Regions from separate parts of the Homo sapiens genome. Here regions 2 and 3 are each linked to region 1. Evidence: promoter capture Hi-C in 16 types of primary human blood cells and fetal thymus (Javierre and others, 2016). All regions are on one chromosome and are shown on one strand. Each heading gives the region's core, a stretch centred on a gene start or on the middle of the fragment in contact. The rest is flanking DNA. Distances are from core to core; before and after follow the strand shown.

Region 1 (3,486 bases), core at 639-3,138:
ATTTGGTAAGGGGCACAAAACAACAGAGGATGCCTCCAGCATTCTGGGGGTAGTACGTAGAAAATTAAGGTCGTATTTATCTGCCAAGGAGCACCGCAGGGATATAAACCACAAAAACAGGAGGGAAAAGAAGCCCAGTTAAGATCTCCTCCTTAATTCCTGATTTCTGGCCCTATTATTTTGCTAAATACCACTACCACAACTCAGAACAAGTATAAGTGTCTGTGCATCTCTTACTAGGGACTGGGCACTGTTAAAGTGTTTTACATATATTAATTAATTCCCACAACAACCTCAAGAGGTAGGTACTGTTCTCCCCTTTTGACATATAAGCAAATTAAAACACAAAGAAGTTAAATAACTTTCCACTGTGGGTGGCAGAGCTGGGACTTAGGCTACCCAGCCCCAGAGCCTGGCCAGTTACCACCACTCCATATGACAGCCACCTTTTCTCTGTTCCATGAATCAATTACAGATATATATACGTGTGTGTGTGTATACATGTATATATACGTATGTGTATATATACGTTTGTGTATGTATAAACGTATGTGTGTGTATACATGTATGTGTGTGTGTGTGTGTGTGTGTGTGTGTGTGTGTGTGTATTTTTTTTTTTTTTTTTGAGATGGAGTTTTGCTCTTGTTGTCCAGGCTGGAGCGCAATGGCGCAACCTTGGCTCACTGCAACTTCCGCCTCCCGAGTTCAAGGATTCTCCTGCCTCAGCCTCCCAAGTAGCTGGGATTACAAGCATGTAATCCCATTACACCACCACGTTCGGCTAATTTTTTTTTTTTTTTTTTTTTTGTATTTTTAATAGAGACGGAGTTTCACCATGTTGGCCAGGCTGGTCTCGAACTCCTGGCCTCAAGTGATCCTCCCGCCTTTGCCTCCCAGAGTGCTGAGATTACAGGCGTGAGCCACCGCGCCTGGGCCAGATACGTATTTTCAGCACTGGTTGTGCAAAACTCACTCCCCACCTCATCTTAAGAACTTAATGAACCTTTTGGTAAAACGCCAATACCAGCATAAAACAAATTTCTTCAGGATACAAATATTTTCATAATTTGTATTAACTCAACCTAAACTTTACCAGCCTGAACTGCTTCTTCAAGGCTTGACTAATACACTGTTAGGGAGTATTTTAAGCAGCCTCCACCCAAGTGCTTACCTTGTAGCTCTATTTATCTGCCTTAGGCATTTACTGGACTCCTTTCAGATTCTTTCCCTCGCTAATGTTTTCCGGTATCATCTGATAACTGAATAGAAAATGCTGTTCTGAATCACTACACCTCACTATCAACCATATCACAAATAAATTATGTTATATATTATATATAAATATTATAATGGGCTATTTAAACTAAGCCAGCCGTCTTACCATGTGCTCATGTGGGATTTCCTGTTTCAATGTTGAATAATAATATATTTTAAAGTTAGCAAAGCCATTTCACCTGCAGTCGTTGATTTCTTCAAAATCTGAGCATTTAAATCCATTGCCAATGTTTGCTTAAAGAACACTGTTTTCTTAACGAGTCTTCCAAATCGGTCCTTACAGGAAGAACCTCTGAATGCTATACGCATATATGGACGGCTGCGTGTCCCTACAAAGTCAGCCTGTTACTTCCACTGGAGAAACAAAACTCTTGAGAATCGCTGAGCTGTAAAAATGTTAGAAAGCCGGTGTCCCAGGCGCCCTGAGAAAGCCGGGAGAGGGCGGTGGCTGCCCACAGGCCGCCTCCAGCCCCGCGCGAGGCCGAGGCCTCAGCGCGCCCCCCGCCCCCGCGGCGCCTAGCGGCCCCGCCGCAGGGCAGGCCTGGCCGGGCCTCCCCGGGCTGCGGCGGCGCCCCCTGCAGGCCGCGGCGGGCAGAGCGGGGGGAAGGAACCCGAGCCGGGCTGCCACCGTGTCCCAACCGGTGCCGCCGCCGGAGCTTCTCCGGGCCCCGAGTCCTCGCCGAACGCCCTCCTCGCCGCCCGCCGCGTCCCGGCGCCCTCCGGAGCCGCCGAGCCGCCCGCGCACACCTGAAGCGGCCGGGCCAGGCCCTGCCTCGATCCTCAGCTCGTCCTCCCCGCCCCGCACCGGCCTTCACTCTGGAGCGGCCCCGGCAGCCGCAGCAGGGGCGGCGGCGGCGGATCGAGGAGCTCTCCAGGTCGTCCCGGGAGAGGCTGCTGCAGTCCCGGGACAGGATGTTCTCCAAGTTCACCTCCATCCTGCAGCACGCCGTGGAGGCGGTAAGGCCGCGGGCTGCGGGCGCACGGCAGGCCGGGGATGGCGGCGGCCTACGCTCCCCGGCGGCCTCGGGGACAAGCCGGGCGGCCTTGGCCCGGCCCTCGGCGGCCCTGTCCCCGGTTGGGGTGAGGCCCCAGGCGGGCGCCCTGGGCGGCCGCCGGGTCGTGGGGGCGCCCGGGGCCTCGGGCCTGGCTCTGCGGGGGTCCCGTCGGTCCCTGGCTGCCCCAGGCCGGCAGTCCCTGCCCTCCTCCAGGAGCCGGGGCGGGGGTGCCGGGGAGGACCTGGCCGCCCAACGCCGCTCGGTGGTCGCCTCATTCCTCTGATGGGGCCGGGGGTTCGGGGAGCACCTGGCGGGGTCGCAGAGAGCTCCCCCGGGCTCCCTTAACGTTAACCTTCTCCGGAAAAAAAGTGGTCAGCGTTGAGCAAGACAAAAGAAACGAGCAAGCACCGCTTGGGCTTGGTTCTGTTTTGTTTTGGTTTTCGGGGGTAGAGGTGGGAGAGGCATGGTCTCGCTGTGGGGCGTCCCTGGCGAGGGAGCCGCCGACCAGCCCCCGGGTTGCTGGCTTTTGCTTTCTTGGGCCTGGAGGCCGAACTCAGCTGAACCTTATGTATTGATCTGAAATAGGAGTTTGGAGGGTCCAGTCGAGTTTGCTTTCGACAGCTTCCAAGCTCACCGAGCCCAGAGACCATCTGTTTCCTTTCTTGTCTAGTTCTCTTCCTGGACACTCTTCGTTTATCCTGCAATTGTACTCTCCTTTGAGGGTTTTAGACACCAGCATAGAGACAGTATTCAAGTATCCTAGTAGACTAATAAGTGAAAAGAAACTAAAAAGAAAATGCCTTGTCACTGTTCTAGTAAGAATGCTAGTTGCTTCACTTGTTTACTTTATTCTGGGAGAACTGCCCAAATTGAAAAATGCATTCTGTGCAGAAACAATTACTTTGCTAATTTTTAACATGACATTCTCTTCCTATGTTCATATTATGTGATAGGACACTTTAAAATGTACACTTTAAAAATGTCAGATACAACAATGATTTTTTATGGGCAGGCAAAAATGGAGTTTTTGCCTTCAGTAATAAAAACAAACTTTAGTACAATTGTTATTTAAGTGATACATGAGAAGCGTTAAAAAATTTAGCTCTAGGGCAAGCTCTTGGGAAAATGTATCAAACAGGAAAAACAGGGTTTCATAAATGTAGAGCAGTATTACACGGAGGGAAATGACAGTGGTAGACTTCAAGACAACTTTTAG
Region 2 (3,486 bases), core at 599-3,098, 1.2 Mb before region 1:
CAGAGACACTTAAAAACTTAACATGTGCCTAGCATTGTTAATCGGTATATAATATTTGCACATATTTATGGAGTACATATAATATTTTGTTACATATTAGAATGTGTAATGATCAAGTCAGGGCATTTAGGGTGTTTATCGGCTCGAGTATTTATCATTTCTATTCTAGCTATTTTGAAATATATGATACATTGTTGTTAATTGTGGTCATCCTACTCTGTCTGCTATAGGACATTACAACATGTTCCTTCTTTTATTTATTTAACTTTTTAAGAAATAAAGACAGGGTCTCACTATGTTGCCCAGGCTAGTCTCTAACTCCCAAGCTCAAACCATCTGCCCGCTTTGGCCTCCCAAAGTGTTGGAATTGTAGGTGTGAGCCACTGTGCCTGGCTAGAATATATTCCTTTTATCTATTTGCATGTTTCTACCCAGTAACCAATCATTCTCCATACCCTCCATCCCACTGAAAATTAAATAACTTACCCCACTGATGGCCTCTGGAAATGTCCTCACATTTAGATTTAATGGAGTGTGATAGACACTGGTGAAAGTGTTGTTCTTAGGGTTATGGCTACAACAAATAGGTATAAATCAAAATTAGAAATGTACTTTATCCAAATGATTGAGGGACTATTCTTAAAATTATTTTTAAATAATAACAGTTATTTTTAAAAAATCAATAAATGTAAAACTTAAAAATTAAGTTCGTGATTTTCCAGGCAATGCATCTTACAGAAAAAAAAGCAAATCAAATAAAATCGACATATATAACTGAAAGCCTAAATTTAACTGGAAATGATCACTTGAAAACTTTCTGAAGAAAGTAAAAAAGGATTCTGAAATTATTTAAAAGAAAATACTTCAAAGCTCTATATGCATATTTATGGCCATTACATTGTTCTGCACAGTATTTAATAATTTGACATGAGGTTATAGTGGATATATTTGATCTTTTACTTGGAAGAAATTTGAAGTTTTGTGTCCATTGCATAAAATCCCACCTTAGGTCTCTTTAATGACAGGATACAAGGGAACACTTTGGGAGAAGATATTTCTTGGATTTAACCCTGGGTTATATGATTTGAACGTTTAGTTGGCTCCTTGTTGAAAAACAAATAAAACTCAAGAGGTAGTGGTGGGGGCATCAAACACTTACGCGTGACAGTACGGCTTTTTCTGGTGACTCACAAAGTTATTAACAGACAGCATCATCTTGCAAACTTCACAGTGAAAACAGGCTTTATGCCATATCTAGAAATCATATAGAGAAGATTTAGCAATTACCCTTTTCCCCCCAGACTCAAGGTTCTTATATATTTTAGGGTAAAAAAATGAACTTCGAGGATAAAATGCTGATTTTAAAAAAATTAAAATCCACACACACAGCTATAACAACACTCACGGTTAAATAAATGGATAACTTTTTTTTTTTGAGACAACACAGAAGAAATAGAAATGTGTAGAACTAAATAAAGGTGAGAAAATATAACTTTTTCTTGTGGTTCAAAACAATTTAACTGAAAATTAAATTTCCATATTTACCTATGTCCATATGTGAGAAGGTCAATTTCCTGTGTTTGTTATTATTCACAAAAGCCAAGAAATGTCTACTGACCTGATCTATACAGCTGATCTTCTCGGCAGGATAAACCCCATACCCACACCTAGAACAGGGCTGCACATTCATCTCGAAGCCGGAAGAGAGAGGACAAAGATAGGCAACAGGCAAGAAATGCAAGGAGAACCCCCAGTCTAGTTCAAGTCTTCAAAATCCGACGACCATAAAATTCCTGTGGGCACCTCGATCTTTCAGAATCCAACTTCCACTTTCCTTTGCTGACCTTCTAGTTTGAAGTCAGCAGTTGGATGGTTTTTAAAGCTGCCACTTACTCAAGGGGCTATTTTGGCCACTCACTCAGCACGCATGTGTCTGGGAAATAAGGTGGAAGTATTTCTAGCTGACATGCTTCTCTAAATAGAAAAATGAACTCACAACAGCATCATGTTTATGTGGATAACCAAACCCTGGTGTATGATCAGGCAGCATGGAGTGGTTTAGCACTAGCTGTGATCATGACCCAAGAAAAGAACCTAAAGGAAGATGCCACACCGTCATCCAACAATCAAATTAGAAAAGCTTGCTCTATGCGTCCTATGACTAAAGCAGAAAGGCCAGCTCCCAAAAATATAGAAAATAAAATAGGATTGATTCACTCCTTTAAATGGATAAATATCACACTTGAATTTTAACTTTACCTACCCAAAGCGTTTACAACAGTTAAACTAAAAACTTAATAAGGTGTTAGTTTGTGTTTAGCTTCTACTGGAACGCAAAACTAAAAACTAATGAGAACTCTTGGTGTTTTGGCCTCTGTATTTTATTCTAGAATGTTCCAAGAAGGCCTTTGTGCTTGTTCCCTTGCCTCACAGGCCTTAAAAGAGGTGATATGAAGACAGAATCTCTCTTCCTGGCTTTGGGAAGCCTCTCATTGCCTTCAGTCTCTGCTGAAATGTCACCTTATCACCTTATAGAAATACCTGATACAAAATGGCACCTCACCTGTCCCCACTCCTATCTCATTATCTTCCATTACTCTTAGCCTGCTTGATGGTCTTCATAGTGGTAATCACAGCTGGACATATTACATGTTAATGTTTCTATTTTTAAAAATTGTGTCTCTCCCATCAAAATATGAGTTCTGTCTAAACAGGATCTTTGGTCCTTTTTGCCACTTCTATATCCCCCATGCCTAGAACAAGGTCTGCCAATAAAAGGTGCTTAATAAAGATTTATTGGATTAATGAAATAAATTTAATACTCACACCAAAATGCCTATAGAGGCCAGGTATGAAGTCTAGATAATGGTAGGAACTTTTCCAAATAGATGAGCACTCATCCCATCTGAAGCAGGCAACTGCTCCTCAGTCCCAGCCAACTGTCATCATGAAACAATCAACATTCCAGGTTGCCAAATATCCTGATTTTTCCGGAATATTTTCCAAATATTCTGAGCACACCAGAAGTCTGCATTTACAAATGAAATTCCCCTTTTTGTATATAAAACAATATAACAGAGTCGTGGGCAGTATTTGGCCAGCAGGTTACCAATTTGTGACCTTGGCCCTAAATGTTCTGAGGTTAGGTTGGTGTCCCCAGGTAGGGTGGAGTAAGATGAGTAGTATTTTGGGGTTGTGCTGAGATAGCCAGGGGGTAGGAAGAAGCTCTAAAGCCAATGAAGAAGAGTAGCATTCAAGTCCACATGAGTATAAGGGGAAGGCGGAGTCTCAGGTTTTCCCACATGGGGCTAGGGCTCTCTCAGCATGGGGAGGGGACTCAAAGCAGGGACTCCAGGCTCAGCAAAGACTCCCACACTGAAACGTGATTGGGCAGGAGGGCTGCCACCAGCCTGCAAATGAGAACAGCAATGGGCACAGCACAAAGACCTGCAGGGTTCCCCGGTTGTTTTGCTCTGCACCAGGCTT
Region 3 (3,486 bases), core at 502-3,001, 1.1 Mb before region 1:
TCTAACTGTTTCATCGGTATCCTTTCCAAAGGAACACAAGTCTTACAGTAATTTTCCCTCTTCCCCTTTTTGGTTAGGTCTCTATATTATAACAATAGGCTGTCTGGACTTTATAGTTCCCAAGTAAGTGGAAATCAGCACAAGCTTTTTATGAACTACTTAGAGCTACAACTGGTATCTGATTAAAATTCTAATGTAAAGACATTAAGACTATCTCCAGAATTATCAAAAGTTAGCCCAAAAGAACATCCAGGAAATTCTGTTAGGTCTATCTCTGTCTTGTTATAAAGAAATACCTGAGATTTGATAATTTATAAAGAAAAGAGGTTTAATTGGCCCATGGTTCTGCAAGCTGTACAGGAAGCATAGTCCTGGCATCTCTCAGCTTCTGAGAAGACCTCAGGGGGCTTTCTTTTACGCATGGTGGAAGGTGAGGCGGGAGTAGCCATGTCACCTGGTGGGAGTGGGAGCAGTAGAGTTGGGGGAGATGCCACACACTTTTAAATAAAGACCTCAGTACAACTCACTATCTCAGACACAGAACCAAGCCATGAGGGATCCACCCCCAGGACCCAACACCTCCAGCCAGACTCCACCTCCATCACTGGGGATTACATCTCAACATGAGATTTGGAGGGGACATCCAAACTATATCAAAATTAAGAAATTGTTTTTCCTAAATCAAGCAAAACTGGTCCTGTGCAGGAAGCAAACAATATATCAATAATTTCTGTATGCCTGAAGTCCAGCTAGGTTTGCTAAATGAAGAAACCAATAACATCTACCCTCCATAGGATGCAAAAGAGAAAAACAAAGAAATACCCTCTGTTGAATGCTAACTGTGGATAAAGCACTGTGCTAGATGCTTTTTATATGTGAAATTTTACTTAACTTTAAAAAAAAATCCTGTGAAGTCAGTATTATCTGTTCCATTTTGCAGATGAGGAAACAGACTCAGAGAACTCCAGTTAACTTGCCAAGACCACACAATGGATCCATGGCAGAGCTGATTCCAGACCAGCTACCCTCGTGAGGATGAGGATTCAAATGATGTACTTTTACTTCTAAAGGCAGTAGAACAGGATAAAATTCATCATCACTTCTTCCTCTCCCCTAGAAATCTGTAATACACATGAAAATATACCTAAGACCCTTTGGTGGCTGGATACCACTCACCAGGTCTAAGAATGATGGTTTGCTCAATTGCTGTTGGTGGCTGTGCAGGGGAACATGCCTAGCGCCACCCTGTTGATGGTAACACTCTGTCATGGCTGAATGAGCAACTCTTCCTGGAAACCATTGGCATGTACAAGTGTTTAGAGAAGCCAGGCTTTTGTTTCCTCATCTGGTACAAAGGAACCCTTTCTACCCTTCCCAGGAAGACATTGGTTAAGATATGGCTGAGGGAGGCATAGGGATTTTTTTTCAATGGTAGTCACCACAGACGGTTGAGGGTAAATTGGCGTTGTTCTCAATAAGGGTTATTGTGACCATGGTCCAAAGTCTGGCAGGAATTTTTTTTTATTATTAATGTGTTTGCTTTCATTTTTGGTGCTAGGCAGCTGGGACACCAAGGAGAGTTCTGTGGCAAGCCACAAGTATGAAGGCCCAGAACTTCCCCTGAGGGCATAGCTTCCATTTCAGTTTGGGGCAAGAATAAAATCTGCTCAAGGATATTAGTTTGGGAACTTCCTGGTGGTTCAGATTTCAAGCAGAGTTTGTGCTTAATCCTCACCCAGGCACCAAGGCTCAGAGTCAGCAGGAGTGAGTTCAGGAATCCTCGGGACAAGGCACTTTCCTGAGCACTGGACCAGCGACCTCTTGGCTTCCAGTAAGTACTGCTTGGTGTATCTGGTTTGGACTTCCAAGGCTGGGATGATCTAGAAGCTTTTTTGCAATTGAACAATTGCAAAATTGGAAATGGAAAATTTTGCAGATATGCTGTATTTCTGTTATGGGCACTTTCTTCATAAGCTTCCTAGGCTATACTATAGTCAGAGGGAAATAGGACTGACCTCTTGGTATACTGTATTCACCAAATCCAAAATAATGTTATAATAAATGGGTCAGGCAGTGACTGTGGGGAGATTCTCCTGAATGAGATCAAACAGCTAAATCAGAAAGGCTTTCTTTTTTGTTTGGGGGCAATGACAAGAAAAACAAGCAGAACTATGAAAAGACTTAATTCTACTTTCTTAGATAGGAGGAAAAGCAAAGTAGTTAAGGCCAGCTCTCAAGCTAGAATTCTGGTTCTGCTTCTTTTTAATTACATGATCAAAGTAAAGTTGTTTAATCTCTCCGATAACCATTTCCTCGTCTGTAAATGGGCATTGTATCATTGTGAAAACAGTGCAAGCTTTAGAGTACGGTTATGAGGTTAGGATGAGATTTTATATGTATATGTGAAATTATATGTATACATATACATAAAATCTTTCATATACATATTGCTTAGAAGTGCCTGGAATGTATTAAGTACTCAAAAAATGCTACCCATTATTAAACAACCATAGAATCATAGAATATCTGAGCTGGAAAGGACCTAACAACTAGCATTTATTGAGCTTCTATTATGTACTGAGGAGTGCTCATCAACAGGGTATCTCAAGTGATACTCCCAGCAATCTGATGAGGGTAGTAATAACCTTCATGTTACAGATGAAGAAATGGAGGTGTAGAGAAGTATTATAAAGTATCCAAGATCACATTCCTCATAATTCATGGAGATGAAATTTAAACCCAGATGCCAGAGCTAACACTCTAAACCACCACACCCTACTGCCTTATCTGTCCTCTCATTTTACGGTGGGTGGGGAGATGAAGGAGGAATGGTTGCAGCACATGACTCTGGAGCCCTTTGCAGACACTGGAAGGACAGAGATGTCCTCCAAAGCACACTTTGACATCCACAGGGCACAGGGAGGGCAAATGTTATTTGGGAGTGTCCATGAGCATGAATGTGGTGCTGTGTGGAGTTCTGCCAGGGGACCTAGGTCCAAGTCATCTCAGTCTTCTCTCAAATGCAGCTTTTCATTTGTAAAATGAGCTATCTCAGAATGAAGCCATTCTGAACACAAAAAAATAATGTATGCAAATGCATTTTATAAACTTTAAAGGCTTTAGAAATATTTTTTAAAATGATTTTTTGGCTTTTTGACAAACAGCAGCTCAAAAACAGCTTGCAGTAAACACTGCTTTAAAATATGCCACCCACAGCTAATCTCTCCTGCACATTTCTCCGATTGGATCCTTGAGGGCCATCACTCATTAGGCTAACAGCTGCATAGGGGGCGTGGCCAAGTCCTATAAACATGGACAGAGGGAAAGGTGATGGGTTGAAAACCGCTTGTCCCCAGCTCTTCAGGCAGTGAAATCCTTGAAACTGGAAAGAACCTCATGGATTTGATAAGAAATCTCAGGGATAATTTTTTAAATATTATCCATGCATTTTGGGGAGTGGGCAAGGTTTTGAAGAGGTTACGTTCT

The links. Contacts are between HindIII fragments. The CHiCAGO score rates a contact against its expected background, and 5 or more counts as called.
Region 2: the fragment with the promoter of NRAP here is called in contact with the fragment with the promoter of FHIP2A in region 1 in 1 of 17 cell types (non-activated CD4 T cells); the score reaches 6.4 in non-activated CD4 T cells.
Region 3: the fragment with the promoter of PLEKHS1 here is called in contact with the fragment with the promoter of FHIP2A in region 1 in 5 of 17 cell types (total B cells, M0 macrophages, non-activated CD4 T cells and 2 more); the score reaches 12.8 in total B cells.

The regions. Positions count from the first base shown.
Region 1 is chr10:114,819,892-114,823,377 of GRCh38, forward strand. FHIP2A (FHF complex subunit HOOK interacting protein 2A) reads left to right here and starts at 1,889. Exons shown (of 17, transcript NM_020940.4): 1 at 1,889-2,232. The coding sequence starts at 2,188. LOC124902508 (translation initiation factor IF-2-like) reads right to left here and starts at 3,057. Exons shown (of 2, transcript XM_047426127.1): 1 at 1,382-3,057. The coding sequence starts at 2,210. The coding sequence ends at 1,605. RefSeq lists silencers at 1,638-1,947, 1,958-2,307, 2,368-2,587 and an enhancer at 2,293-2,793. The HindIII fragment of the contact is 9,749 bases long and covers 1-3,486 here.
Region 2 is chr10:113,662,193-113,665,678 of GRCh38, forward strand. NRAP (nebulin related anchoring protein) reads right to left here and starts at 1,849. Exons shown (of 42, transcript NM_198060.4): 1 at 1,619-1,849; 2 at 1,160-1,254; 3 at 487-574. The coding sequence starts at 1,690. The HindIII fragment of the contact is 5,999 bases long and covers 1-2,138 here.
Region 3 is chr10:113,749,931-113,753,416 of GRCh38, forward strand. It overlaps PLEKHS1 (pleckstrin homology domain containing S1), which reads left to right and starts at 1,752. Exons shown (of 13, transcript NM_001395068.1): 1 at 1,752-1,831. The HindIII fragment of the contact is 1,743 bases long and covers 143-1,885 here.